Regions from separate parts of the Homo sapiens genome. Here all the other regions are linked to region 3. The links are contacts of gene promoters, found by promoter capture Hi-C in blood cells and fetal thymus (Javierre and others, 2016). All regions are on one chromosome and are shown on one strand. Each heading gives the region's core, a stretch centred on a gene start or on the middle of the fragment in contact. The rest is flanking DNA. Distances are from core to core; before and after follow the strand shown. Region 1 overlaps RB1CC1 (RB1 inducible coiled-coil 1). Region 2 overlaps RB1CC1 (RB1 inducible coiled-coil 1). Region 3 holds the start of TCEA1 (transcription elongation factor A1). Region 4 overlaps RB1CC1 (RB1 inducible coiled-coil 1).

The links. Contacts are between HindIII fragments. The CHiCAGO score rates a contact against its expected background, and 5 or more counts as called.
Region 1: a contact is called between a fragment that was not itself captured here and the fragment with the promoter of TCEA1 in region 3, in 4 of 17 cell types (activated CD4 T cells, non-activated CD4 T cells, fetal thymus and 1 more). The highest score is 7.7, in activated CD4 T cells.
Region 2: a fragment that was not itself captured here is called in contact with the fragment with the promoter of TCEA1 in region 3 in 1 of 17 cell types (naive CD8 T cells); the score reaches 5.8 in naive CD8 T cells.
Region 4: a contact is called between a fragment that was not itself captured here and the fragment with the promoter of TCEA1 in region 3, in 2 of 17 cell types (activated CD4 T cells and naive CD8 T cells). The highest score is 5.9, in activated CD4 T cells.

What each region holds. Positions count from the first base shown.
Region 1 is chr8:52,659,693-52,662,658 of GRCh38, reverse strand. RB1CC1 (RB1 inducible coiled-coil 1) reads left to right here. Exons shown (of 24, transcript NM_014781.5): 9 at 940-1,124; 10 at 1,378-1,564; 11 at 1,652-1,733; 12 at 2,002-2,063. Among named protein-coding and RNA genes, the nearest start is that of RB1CC1, 53 kb to the left of the region's middle. The HindIII fragment of the contact is 207 bases long and covers 1,433-1,639 here.
Region 2 is chr8:52,677,224-52,679,990 of GRCh38, reverse strand. The region is part of intron 5 of RB1CC1 (RB1 inducible coiled-coil 1); the gene reads left to right. Among named protein-coding and RNA genes, the nearest start is that of RB1CC1, 36 kb to the left of the region's middle. The HindIII fragment of the contact is 2,231 bases long and covers 214-2,444 here.
Region 3 is chr8:54,020,907-54,023,886 of GRCh38, reverse strand. It overlaps TCEA1 (transcription elongation factor A1), which reads left to right and starts at 1,439. Exons shown (of 10, transcript NM_006756.4): 1 at 1,439-1,824. The coding sequence starts at 1,762. All of the region lies in intron 12 of LYPLA1-TCEA1 (LYPLA1-TCEA1 readthrough), which reads left to right. It overlaps LOC133039971 (Uncharacterized LOC133039971), which reads right to left and starts at 1,854. Exons shown (of 3, transcript NR_189620.1): 1 at 1,505-1,854. RefSeq lists silencers at 386-693, 1,821-1,990 and enhancers at 115-906, 1,501-1,650, 907-1,700. The HindIII fragment of the contact is 35,827 bases long and covers 1-2,980 here.
Region 4 is chr8:52,710,156-52,712,871 of GRCh38, reverse strand. The region is part of intron 1 of RB1CC1 (RB1 inducible coiled-coil 1); the gene reads left to right. Among named protein-coding and RNA genes, the nearest start is that of RB1CC1, 2.9 kb to the left of the region's middle. The HindIII fragment of the contact is 3,105 bases long and covers 1-2,716 here.

The sequences.
Region 1 (2,966 bases), core at 287-2,786, 1.4 Mb after region 3:
AGACACACTTGTCCTTTAGCTGGTCATAAAGTTAAGTTCCTAGAAGGATAATGATTTATTTACAGTATCAATACAGCAATCAGATGGATGTACAAAACCTACAACATTATTACATATAAGCCACTTGGTATATAGCATAGGAAAAAACTTTGTGGTAGCAATAAAGTATGTAGTAATAACCTTATTAAGTTATCTTTGGACCACATATAAAGAAAACTAAATATACTTGAGAGATAAATGAAGGAAGATTATGGCAGATCTATCTAAATTAATTAGTAACTTAATCCCTACTTGACAGATACACCGTTCACCTACAAAAACAAATGAGTAAGGACAGTTAAGAAAAACAGAAAAAATGTTTTTCTACCAAATAATAAAGTATAAACTCTGTGTAAAATCACACAATTCAGTCATTGTCCTAGCAATGGGAGCACAGATCAGTGGAACAAAATATAGTCCAGAGATAACTGGAGAGGGCAGTGACTTTTCGATAAATATTTTAAGGGCATTTTATTATTTTTATATTTGGGAAAGTGTCTAATATACTACTGTATAATGTTTGCTAGATTAAATCCCTTATTGTTTTTCAGTGACCTTGTTTTGTTTGTGCTGTGACTGACCGATAGTGTTATAGGATTCTAGACACATAGCTTCTAATTCTCATTGACTATTAAGTATGTCCTTGGCTAAGGGGCTTTATCTTTCTAGCCTTTATTTTCTTCTAGTTTGAAAAATTAAAGATGAGCATAGGATTCTTAAAAATTCTAGGTCTTGTGCCATTTATGCATCTACTACATTCGAGAAAAATAGAGGATTTAAAAATATTGTTAGAAGGCACAAAACGGGTTGTGTTTAACATAAAGATTTTCCACTTAACTGAATGTCCATACCTTTCATGAAACAAAATTAATGTCCTTTGAAACATTTTTTTTCTCAAAGGGATTTTTAGCTAATCAGAAGAGAGCTGAAAACTTAAAGGATGCATCTGTATTACCTGATTTATGCCTGAGTCACGCAAATCAGTTGATGATTATGTTGCAAAATCATAGAAAACTGTTAGATATTAAGCAGAAGTGTACCACTGCCAAACAAGAACTAGCAAATAACCTACATGTCAGACTGAAGTAAGTGATTCATTTATATCTGTTTTAAGATGTTTAGAATTGGTATTTATATTTATTTCTCCCAAATGATGGAGTGATTTTTCCCTACCATTTTATTGAAATACCTTATTGATGAACTTTGGAATTAGACTATTTTTGTAGAGCTTATATATCTTGATTTCTTTGGCTTAACTAAGTTAGTAAGCTTACTAAGTAAGTAACTAAGTTAGTACCAGTTTTGTGAATGTTGAAAATAATGGATTTTATTCTCTAGGTGGTGTTGCTTTGTAATGCTTCATGCTGATCAAGATGGAGAGAAGTTACAAGCTTTGCTCCGCCTCGTAATAGAGCTGTTAGAAAGAGTCAAAATTGTTGAAGCTCTTAGTACAGTTCCTCAGATGTACTGCTTAGCTGTTGTTGAGGTTGTAAGAAGAAAAATGTTCATAAAACACTACAGGGAGGTATGCAAGTTGAATTCTATTTTAACTGTATATGAACTTTAACGAATTGGTGTATGTTTATGTTTAACATAAGCTTTCCTCTTCTAGTGGGCTGGTGCTTTAGTCAAAGATGGAAAGAGATTATATGAAGCAGAAAAATCAAAAAGGGAATCCTTTGGGAAATTATTTAGTAAGTGTTCATTAATAATTTTAATTACTTTTGTAAAGGATAAAAGTTTTTATAAGCTTGGATTTTCTGTAGCATACTTCATGTATATGCTGTTAATTGCCATTGATATCTAGGAAATATTCCTTTTAAAGTGTATAGAATTGAATCCATTGTTAAATTTTAAACTTGAAGTACTGTCAACTTTTAATTTACCTTTTCAAAAACCAGAGATAATTTTTTGCCTTAAATAAAGCTCTAAAATAACCATATTGTTAATTTCTTTATACAGGGAAGTCTTTTTTAAGAAATCGTCTGTTTAGGGGACTGGACTCCTGGCCCCCTTCCTTTTGTGTATGTATTTATTTTCTAACCATGACTAAATTCCATATGTTTTAAAACCTTTTTTCCAGAAGTAGAGACATTTATCAGAAACTTGCAGAAATTGTTGTGGTTTAAAAAAAATCAAAATAAAAGTGTTTTTGGCTTTAAAAGCCAGTTAGCATAAAGCTTTAAGATTGATATTTGTATTCATAATTTTTTATAAAGAATCTTCATAACACAGGAAGATACCTTATACTGCACTGTTAGGATTGGTAGAAATAGATTCACTTGGTTTTTTTGTTTTCTTGTCTCTTCCTTTTTTTCTTTCCACCCTTCCCTCTTCTTTCTTCCACTGCTCTTCTCCCTCCCTCCTCCTTTACAGCCTCCACCTCCTCCTTGCCCTTCTATATTTCTTTTCACACCACCCCCCTTTATATTTTGACAAATCAGAATAATAAAGCCTCAGTTAGACTTCACTGGAATTAAACGTTAGTTTGATATGTTTCTAAACCATTGTTATCTGGGGTCATTAATTGTATTACATGAGAAGAAACGTTTCCATGATCAAAGCAATATGGGGGCTTTTACCCCCATCAGATGTACTCTTAGCTGTGTTGTTGTTGTTTTGGAGACAAGAGTCTTGCTCTGTTGTCCAGGCTGGAGTGCAGTGGCACAATCTCATCTCACTGCAACCTCAGCCTCCTGGGTTCAAGCTGTTCTTGTGCCTCAGCCTCCCAAGTAGCTGGGACTAGAGGTGCCTGCCACCACATCCAGCTAAGTTTTTGTATTTTAGTAGAGACGGGGTTTCACCGTGTTGGCCAGCTGGTCTCAAACTCCTGGCCCCAAGTGTTCTGCCCACCTTGGCCTCCCAAATTGTTCAGGTTACAGGCGTGAGCCACCACGCCCAGCCATGCTTAGCTGTTAAACATGTTT
Region 2 (2,767 bases), core at 80-2,579, 1.3 Mb after region 3:
CCCCAGTTAGAAGCAGAATCTATATGTGTAAGAGAGGGATGGAGATGACTTATTTTGTCCTTCTCCTTGGACAAAATTTAGCAGTTCTAGGGCTTTTTCTCACGTTTTTTCCTTTGGCTTTTTGCAAGTATGTAACATAAATAGGTATTATTTCTTCTGCTACTCTCTAATTTCAGATAGGGCCCCAAGAGGTTCTTGCTGTCCACCCAAGCTTCCCACAAGGAGGATTCAGTTCTCCCAAGTTTTGCTAAATGTCTGCAATAGTGGTGTGAACCTAAATTATCGTGAGACAGGTCACAATCAATTTAGAAAATTTATTTTGTCAAGGTTAAGGACACACCCAAGACATAGCTTCAGGGGGTCCTGGTAACATGTGCCCAAGGTGGTCAGGGTACAGTTTGCTTTTATACATTTTAGGGAGACATGAGACATGATTATGTGTAAGAAGTACATTGGTTTGGTTCAGAAGGGCAGGATAACTCGAAGCGGGGTCTTTCGAGTCCTTGATCAGCCTTTCACTCAATACATAATTTAGTCTGGCTCAGTGCATCTGCATTTTTACATAAACAATAAACAGTAAGACAGAGGAAGCAGATAGGCCTTTGTTTCAGGTCAGCAGAGGTGTGACTTTCTGTCCCGCACATATGAAGATATGCTGTCAGTTTACATTGTGAAGGTGAAATTCAGCAGAACTGTTTTAGGTTAAAGATCTTGAAGCCTACAAGAAATTTCCCTGTGGCAAAATTGTGAGGGAGGTATGTAGCTTTCTTATCTTTGTAGCTATCTTATTTAGGAATAAAATTGGAGGCAGGTTTGCCTGACATAGTTCCCAGCTTGATTTTTCCATTGGCTTAGTGATTTTGGGTTCCCGAGATTTGTTATTCTTTCACAGTGGGTGCCCTTTTTATTTGACCCAAGTTGATCAGTTTTCATATTCTTCACAGGTTTGCTGCATATATTGTATGTGTGGGGTGGTAGTTGTTTCCTGGTTTCATCAAGATGGTGTCTTGTTTCCCTTTTGTATTTGGTTGGTTTCATGAAGGAGAAGCAGGCAAAGACATCTTTACTTCATTATCTTACAACTGAAACTATTAGCCCTTTCTTATACACATATGGAATTAAGAACAGGTGAAGATAAGTCATTTCTTCAAGGCCAGATAGCCAGGGAGAAGAAGAACCTCTTTTCTCCAAGGCCAGTGCTCTTTACATTCATATCATTGTACTTCCAGAAAGTAAACTTTCATATTTTACCTGTAAAGATATTTCTTTTCACCTAAATTTGTTCATTAACAATATTATCTTCTAAAACAGAATGGTCATAATTTTGGCATCCTTATCAGCCAAATATATCAGCAAATATATCAGCAAAATATATAGAGAAAATACTTCCTCTTTCGTTGCATCCCCCACTCCATCTTAATGATGGTGGAACATTTGTTTTGCATTTTCCTAGACTTTGATATACACACAAAATGCATTTCTCTCTCATACCTCTGTTGTTTCACATTTCTAACTGACCTTAGCCTCCCCAAATAAATGAAAGCATACTATACTTTTTTTGTTGTTGTTTTTGAGTTGGAGTTTTCGCTCTTGCCACCCAGGCTGGAATTCAGTTGTGCGATCTTGGCTCACTGTAACCTCTGCCTCCTGGGTTCAAGTGATTCTCCTCCCTCAGCTTCCCCAGTAGCTGGGATTACAGGTACGTGCCACCACACCCAGCTAATTTTTGTATTTTTGGTAGAGATGGGTTTCACCATCTTGGCCAGGCTGACCTCAAACTCCTGACCGCAGGTGATCGCCCGCCTCAGCCTCCCAAAGTACTAGGATTACAGGTGAGAGCCACTGCACCCGGCCCATACTATATATATTATTCCTTTTTCATTGTTGCAAGGTACTCCCATTTTTGAAATATCATAAATTTATTTTCCTAGTAAACAGTGCTACAGTTGAACTTATTTTACATTTATAAATTTTAACAATTCATAAAATTGAAACATTTGAATATTTTATATCCTCCATCTTTTGTGTGTTTAAGAATCTTCCTCCTACATTTTCTACATGCGCTGCAAGAACTTCTTGCTTTAATGTACCCAACAGCTCTTTTACTCGTCATTTCAAGGGTGTCACCTCTCTTTCATCTGTTTAAAAAAATCTGAAAACATTTTATTTGTTATTTCATAATTCCAGAGTTTTTTTCCCCACTCTATTTTAGTGGCAGCATGATTGATTAATTGACATTAATTGACATGGCACATAATCATTTTACTGACATTCCTACCCCATAAAGACCATCTTACTTATTTACTTTGGTAACTAGATAACTTACAGTAGCTTTTTTACAGTTTGCCTGGACAACTTAAAAATAATCATTTTACATCCATTCTTTCAGGTGCCTTCCCGTTCCACCTTATGACATTTTCTGTATTATCAGTCTTCTTAAAGCTTCTATTTGATTACATTCTTCATGTTAAAGAGTTCTTGAGGAGGTCTTTTCTGAGTAAAGTCCAATTCCTCCTTCCTTACCTTAGTATCTTCTGGGTCTTTGATCATCTGGCCCTCTTTCTCTCGCTTTTTCCTCCAGACCATTTGTTCTTAACCAATAGTGCTTCATATTTCCTGTCTTTGCCACTTCGTGTTCCACTCTTTTGAAGTACTTCTTTCCCTATCTTTGTTCATATTCTTTTCATACCTTTATACTTAAGTTAAATGCCTTCAGTTAACTTTGACTTCTCATTTCCTGTCTCTTTTGTGACTTTTATATCTGTCT
Region 3 (2,980 bases), core at 190-2,689:
AGGTTGCAGTGAGCCAGCCGAGATGGCACCACTGCACTCCAGCCTGGTCAATAAGAGCAAAACTCCGTGTCAAAAAAAAAAAAAAATTGACAAAATAAATCTCAACAAATACTACAATTTAAGCTGGAAATCAATAATAAAAAGATAATTTAAAAATGAAACAAAATAGGGAAACGATCCCAATACTTCTCCCCCAAATGAGTGAGTCATAACCAGGAAAAACCTGTCATCTCAGTATAGAAAGAACATTATTAGGCGGTGTATTTTGATGAATGATAGTTACGTGGTGTGGGAGTTATACCTGCAAATAGCATGAGTTGGTCGTGAAGGGTTTAAGTGGGGAAAGACTTTTTGGAGGAGCCTGCATTCTCCACTATGAACCCTGTCACAACTTAAGTCACCTTCCTCTCTGATCCTCAGAAGCTGGTGGGATGCCTTGTGTAATTTCTGACCAGAAGGTTTCCGTCAACTGTTCTTCAACTATTCAAAATGCCATGCCCAAGACTGGTTCTTAGTACTCCAGGAGCTCACGAACGATTTCACCTTTATTTATTTTTTATTTTTTTTGAGACGGAGTTTCGCTCTTGTCGCCCAGGCTAGAATGCAATGGCAGTCTCGGCTCACCGCAACTTCCGCCTCCCGGGTTCAAACGATTCTCCTGCCTCAGCCTCCCGAGTGGCTGGGATCACAGGCCATGACGCCCGGCTAATTTTGTATTTTTAGTAGTGACGATGTTTCTCCATGTTGGTCAGGCTGGTCTCGAACTCCTCACCTCAGTTGATCCGCCCGCCTCGGCCTCCCAAAGTGCTGGGATTACAGGCATGAGCCACCGCGCCCGGCCGATTTTTTTTAAAAAAAGGAACGCTTAGCCGGGTGCAGTGGCTCAGGTCTGTAATCGCAGCACTTTGGGAGGCCGAGGCGGGCGGATCACTAGGTCAAGAGATCAAAACCATCCTGGCCAACATGGTGAAACCCTGTCTCTACTAAAAATACAAAAAATTAGCAGGGCGTGGTGGCGGGCGCCTGTAGTCCCAGCTACTCGGGAAACTAAAGCAGGAGAATCGCTTGAACCCGGGGGGGGGAGCTTGCAGTGAGTGGAGATCGCGCCACTGTACTCCAGCCAGGCGACAGAACGAGGCTCCGTCTCAAAAAAAAAGGAACTCTTAAAACGAGTAACTCCGTAACCTAACTTAGAGGACACGGGTTCCATTTTTCCCCGTAGCAGTCTCCTATGGAGAAAGTGCTTGGCTTCCCACAGACTTTAAAACCTGCCAAAGTTCCATGCTCGGAATCTGCCCCCGTTTCGAGATACTTGGGCCTCCGCGAGTTCTAAAACTCCGGGATGTCCCGATGCAATAGGGGGCCGAAAACCCGCCCCGTGAGGGGGCGGGACCGGAGGTGAACGCGCAGCAAAACCGGGCGCCTTCCACGACCCTCTAGCCGGAAGCCACGCCTGCCCACTAGCCCGACGCCCGCCTGGCGGGAACATGGGCTCGCCCCTCACCAGCGATCTGCAGTCAGTTGGTAGCGCCTGCACGTCGCGCGCGGTGTTCGATTGTCGCTGCCTGGGGAGGAGGAGCCGGAGCCGCCGCCGCCGCCGCCGCCGCCGCGGGCTTCGTTCGTAAGGAAGGGGGCCTAGGCCCGGGCCTGCGGTGGTGGGGGTTGCTGCGCGCCGGGGGTCGCTCCTGCTGTGTCTTCCGCTCCAGCTTCGCCCACTTCCCCTTGCCAGCGGGGTGGGCGCGGAGAAGACCTGCCGGAGCCATGGAGGACGAAGTGGTCCGCTTTGCCAAGAAGATGGACAAGATGGTGCAGAAGAAGAACGCGGTGAGCGCGGCGAGCGGCGCGGGCCGGGAGGGAGGCCGGGCCGCGGTCCGGCCCGAGGGGGCCGCCCCCTCCCTCCTTCTCCCTCCCCTCCCCCTGCAGCCTCCCGTCTGGGAGCCGGGCCCGCCGCGCCCGCGTCCCCGGGGAGGGTGTCCGGGCCCGGGGCGTCGGGTCCCGCGGCAACCTGCGTTAGGACCCGCTCGCTCTTGTATTTCCAGTCCCTGCTCGCTGGTGCCGTGTAATAAACCTAATCGATTTAGGGATTAGGGCACGCTCTCCGTTGACTTTAAACTTTCGTGCTAGTAAAACCTTGGCAATTTAGCTTAGGAATTGAAGCGTAGAAAGTCCTCAGAACTTGAAAGAATGGAGTCTTCCGTGATCCGTGGCCAACATCTAGAAAGAGCATCAAATAGAGGCTTGTGATCGGTATTAGACATCGGGCTGGTAAAATGTAAAACTTCTGTGTCTTATTTTTGAAGAGGGCTGAACGTCCGCCTGGTTATCTCAACTGTGCTACATGTTTGCTTAGCGATTAAAAAGGTAAAGTGTGCCAGTTTCTTGGCGAGTTGCTAAACGTTTTATAAAAAGCGGGTTTTGTCCTGTCGTAATGTACAGAAGAGTTAGGACTACAGCACGCACACTCACCGGAATGCTGGTAGAGGGATTTGGACAAATTATATTGTTGGGTATTTTCTAAGTGGTTTACAGTTAATACTGGTGGCATTTTTTTTGTTATTGATGAATATTCATGTAAGCATATGCTTTTGTGGTTTGTAAGAAATCCTCATACGACCAGTTTCTACAGCTTGCCCATTTGTGTGGCACTTTCAGTCCCTTGCTTCAGACTCATCTGTTCTTAGCTAAACATATTTTTTCGAGACGGAGTTTAACTCTTGTTGCACAAGCTGGAGTGCAATGGCTTGATCTCGGCTCACTGCAACCTCCGCCTCTCGGGTTCAAGTGATTCTCCTGCCTCAGCCTCCCGAGTAGCTGGGATTACAGACGTGCGCCACCACGCCTGGCTATTTTTTTGTATTTTTAGTAGAAACGGGGTTTCACCATCTTAACCAGGCTGGTCTCGAACTCCTGACCTCAGGTGATCCGCCCACCTCAGCCTCCCAAAGTGCTGGGATTACAGGCGTGAGGCCACTGCGCCTGG
Region 4 (2,716 bases), core at 91-2,590, 1.3 Mb after region 3:
CATTGCTAGGAATGTGAAAATATGTTCGCTTTTTATATTTGTTGTAACAGAATATGGCCCTAATGAAGATATTTTCTCAATAACATTCCTGTCATGTCTTTTAATGTTTGTGATTGTGTTCAAAACCTGGATAAAGTTTTATGTCAGGGATGCTTTAGGCACATAATGCTTACGTTGAGAAACCTCTGTTGATGGAAAGTGGATATTGACATAGTTCATATTTTTAAAGTAATTTTATTTAGTCTATTTTGAACTTTTTATGGTAATCAAGATATGATTATTTATGTACCTAATCCTTTATATGTTTGTTATTGGACGACAGGGAAGACAATGAAGCGGTACTTTTGTCCCTGAGTTTTTTTTTTTTTTTTTTTTGGCTCTTGCTGCCAAACACAAGATCAGGATGCATGGCAGATTTACTTTAGCAAATCAAGTTCATAAAGGCAGAAGACACAAGACTTTTGTTTTCGAAATTTTGAACCTAAATTTTGATTATGTTAGCCTGAGAAAAGTTTTTAGACTCTAATATTAACTTAAAATTTTATATCATACATTCAGCAGATATTTGAGCACCTACATGCTTTACTTTGCAGATGTGTATGTCTTATGAATATCTTTTTAAAAGAATGGCTGATAAAATTTTCTCATTCAGGTAATGATATTTTCTGACTCCAGTTACACTTTTCTTTTGTAGTAATACTGGCCTAAGACACTTTGAAAATCTAGCAGTCCCTTTCAACACACTTTCACGATTCTTTTATTATCTTTTTACCACTGTGAGGTTTTTGAACTAGTTACATGAGGAACATAAAAATGTTTAAGTAATTGTTCTTGAGTAGAGACGGGGTTTTACCATGTTGGCCAGGCTGGTCTTGAACTCCTGACCTCAGGTGATCTGCCTGCCTCGGACTCCCAAAGCCCGGCCACTGATTGCCTTTTGAATAAAGGCCCAAGAGAAGTAAGGGGTGTAAGTGTGTGACTCTCGAAAGGAATTTTTGGCAGAAGAAACAGTAAATGGAAAGGCTCTGATATACATGGCATATACCAAGAAAAATGAAGTTACTGAAGCTGGACTGGTATGAGAGAGGCGATAGTAATGGTAGATTGTGGGGCTCTACATATTCAGGTTTGGAAGTCATAGTAAGGAAACTAATGTGCTCTAACTCACAAAGGTCTACAGATGAATTCAAGTAAACCCAGCATGGCTGGAAAGCAGTTGAAGCCAAATTCACTTCATTTATTCCTGAAATGCTAATTGAACCCCTGCAGCATACTCTTTTAGCTTCAGCAATGCAACAGTGAACAAGAAAGACATATCTGTCTATGTATATATATTTATTTATAGGAAATGGGTAACCACTGGAAATTTTCATGGAGGTAAATGACAAACGCAGATTACTTTGAGGATGTAGAGTAGATAAAAGGCTAGCTAAGCCGATTGTATAGTGCTAGGTTGATGAGTTTTTGCTTAACTCACATAGATAAAAGGATGTGAAGATTACTTGTCTCTGATTATTTATTATGGACCAAATCAACTTAATTTGACTGTAAACTGTACCCCCATTGTTTAGGGTCCTGAGAGGATGGCATTTCTTTCTATCCCTTTGTAAAGTTCCGGTTCTGTTGGATTACTTTTTGTAAGTGCAGTACTTGAATGCCTCCAAGTACCCTCTTTCCTTGGCTAATTTGTTTCTGCTTTCATGGCTGTTTAGTGAGTGCTTTGAGGATTGTGGAATAACAATCCTCGCCCATTTTTTTTCATCCATGATTTTTTTCTACCCGTTAGTTTGCTCTTTTGAACTCTCATATTTTATTGGCTTGTAATTGTGCTAGGAGATAAAAATAATTGTGTTCCATTTCCTTTTTTTGTCACTGATTTGAGACTGTCCACTCATTTTTCCTTCACATTCCACACATTATACTTGTTCAGTAACTGTCCAGCATACCTGTTGAAATATTAATTCAATACCATATTATATTACAGTAATATAACGGCTTTTAGTAATTGTTTTACTGCAAATACCAGATTTGGGCAGGCTGGTTTAATAATTTGGTTATATGTTTATAGATAATCTTGGTTTAATAGAATGCAGCTAATTCTACATTTTCTTTTTTTTCCCCATTTTCCCTGTCTTATATAATTCTATATTTGCTATATAGATAATTTTGGTTTTACTGTTAGTTTCCGTTATAAAATAAAACACAACTAGAAAATTTTCACTAAAATCATGCATTTTATGTAGTTTTTATAAACGATAGGGACACCAAAATGTGTAATGCATTTATATGTACTGATACAGAAAGATTTCTGTTATTTTATGCAGTTCAAGCAAAGTCCATAGTAGTATGTAGGGTGTCACCTCATTTTTATAAAACCATATTGCCTGAATATACACATATTTCCTGTACACCTAGGGAAAAAAACCTGAAGGGTGTACTCCAAAGTATTTTTCATTTTTGTTTTAAAAGTATTCCTGTTCTGCTATTTTTACCTCATTTGCTGTCTTTGGGCACTACCTTTCTAAATGCTCGCTTCATTCTTTTGGCGAAGTTGCTTGTCTAGTTTGTAGACAAGGCGTATATTTAGGAAGTCTGAACTTTTATGAAAAAGGTTTTCTTTCAGGGAAATGTGAGGAAAATGCCTGACCTACTCATCTTTCATTCTTTTTCTTGGCAGAGAAGGGGTAGGATCAGATTAGAATACATCTGATTTGGG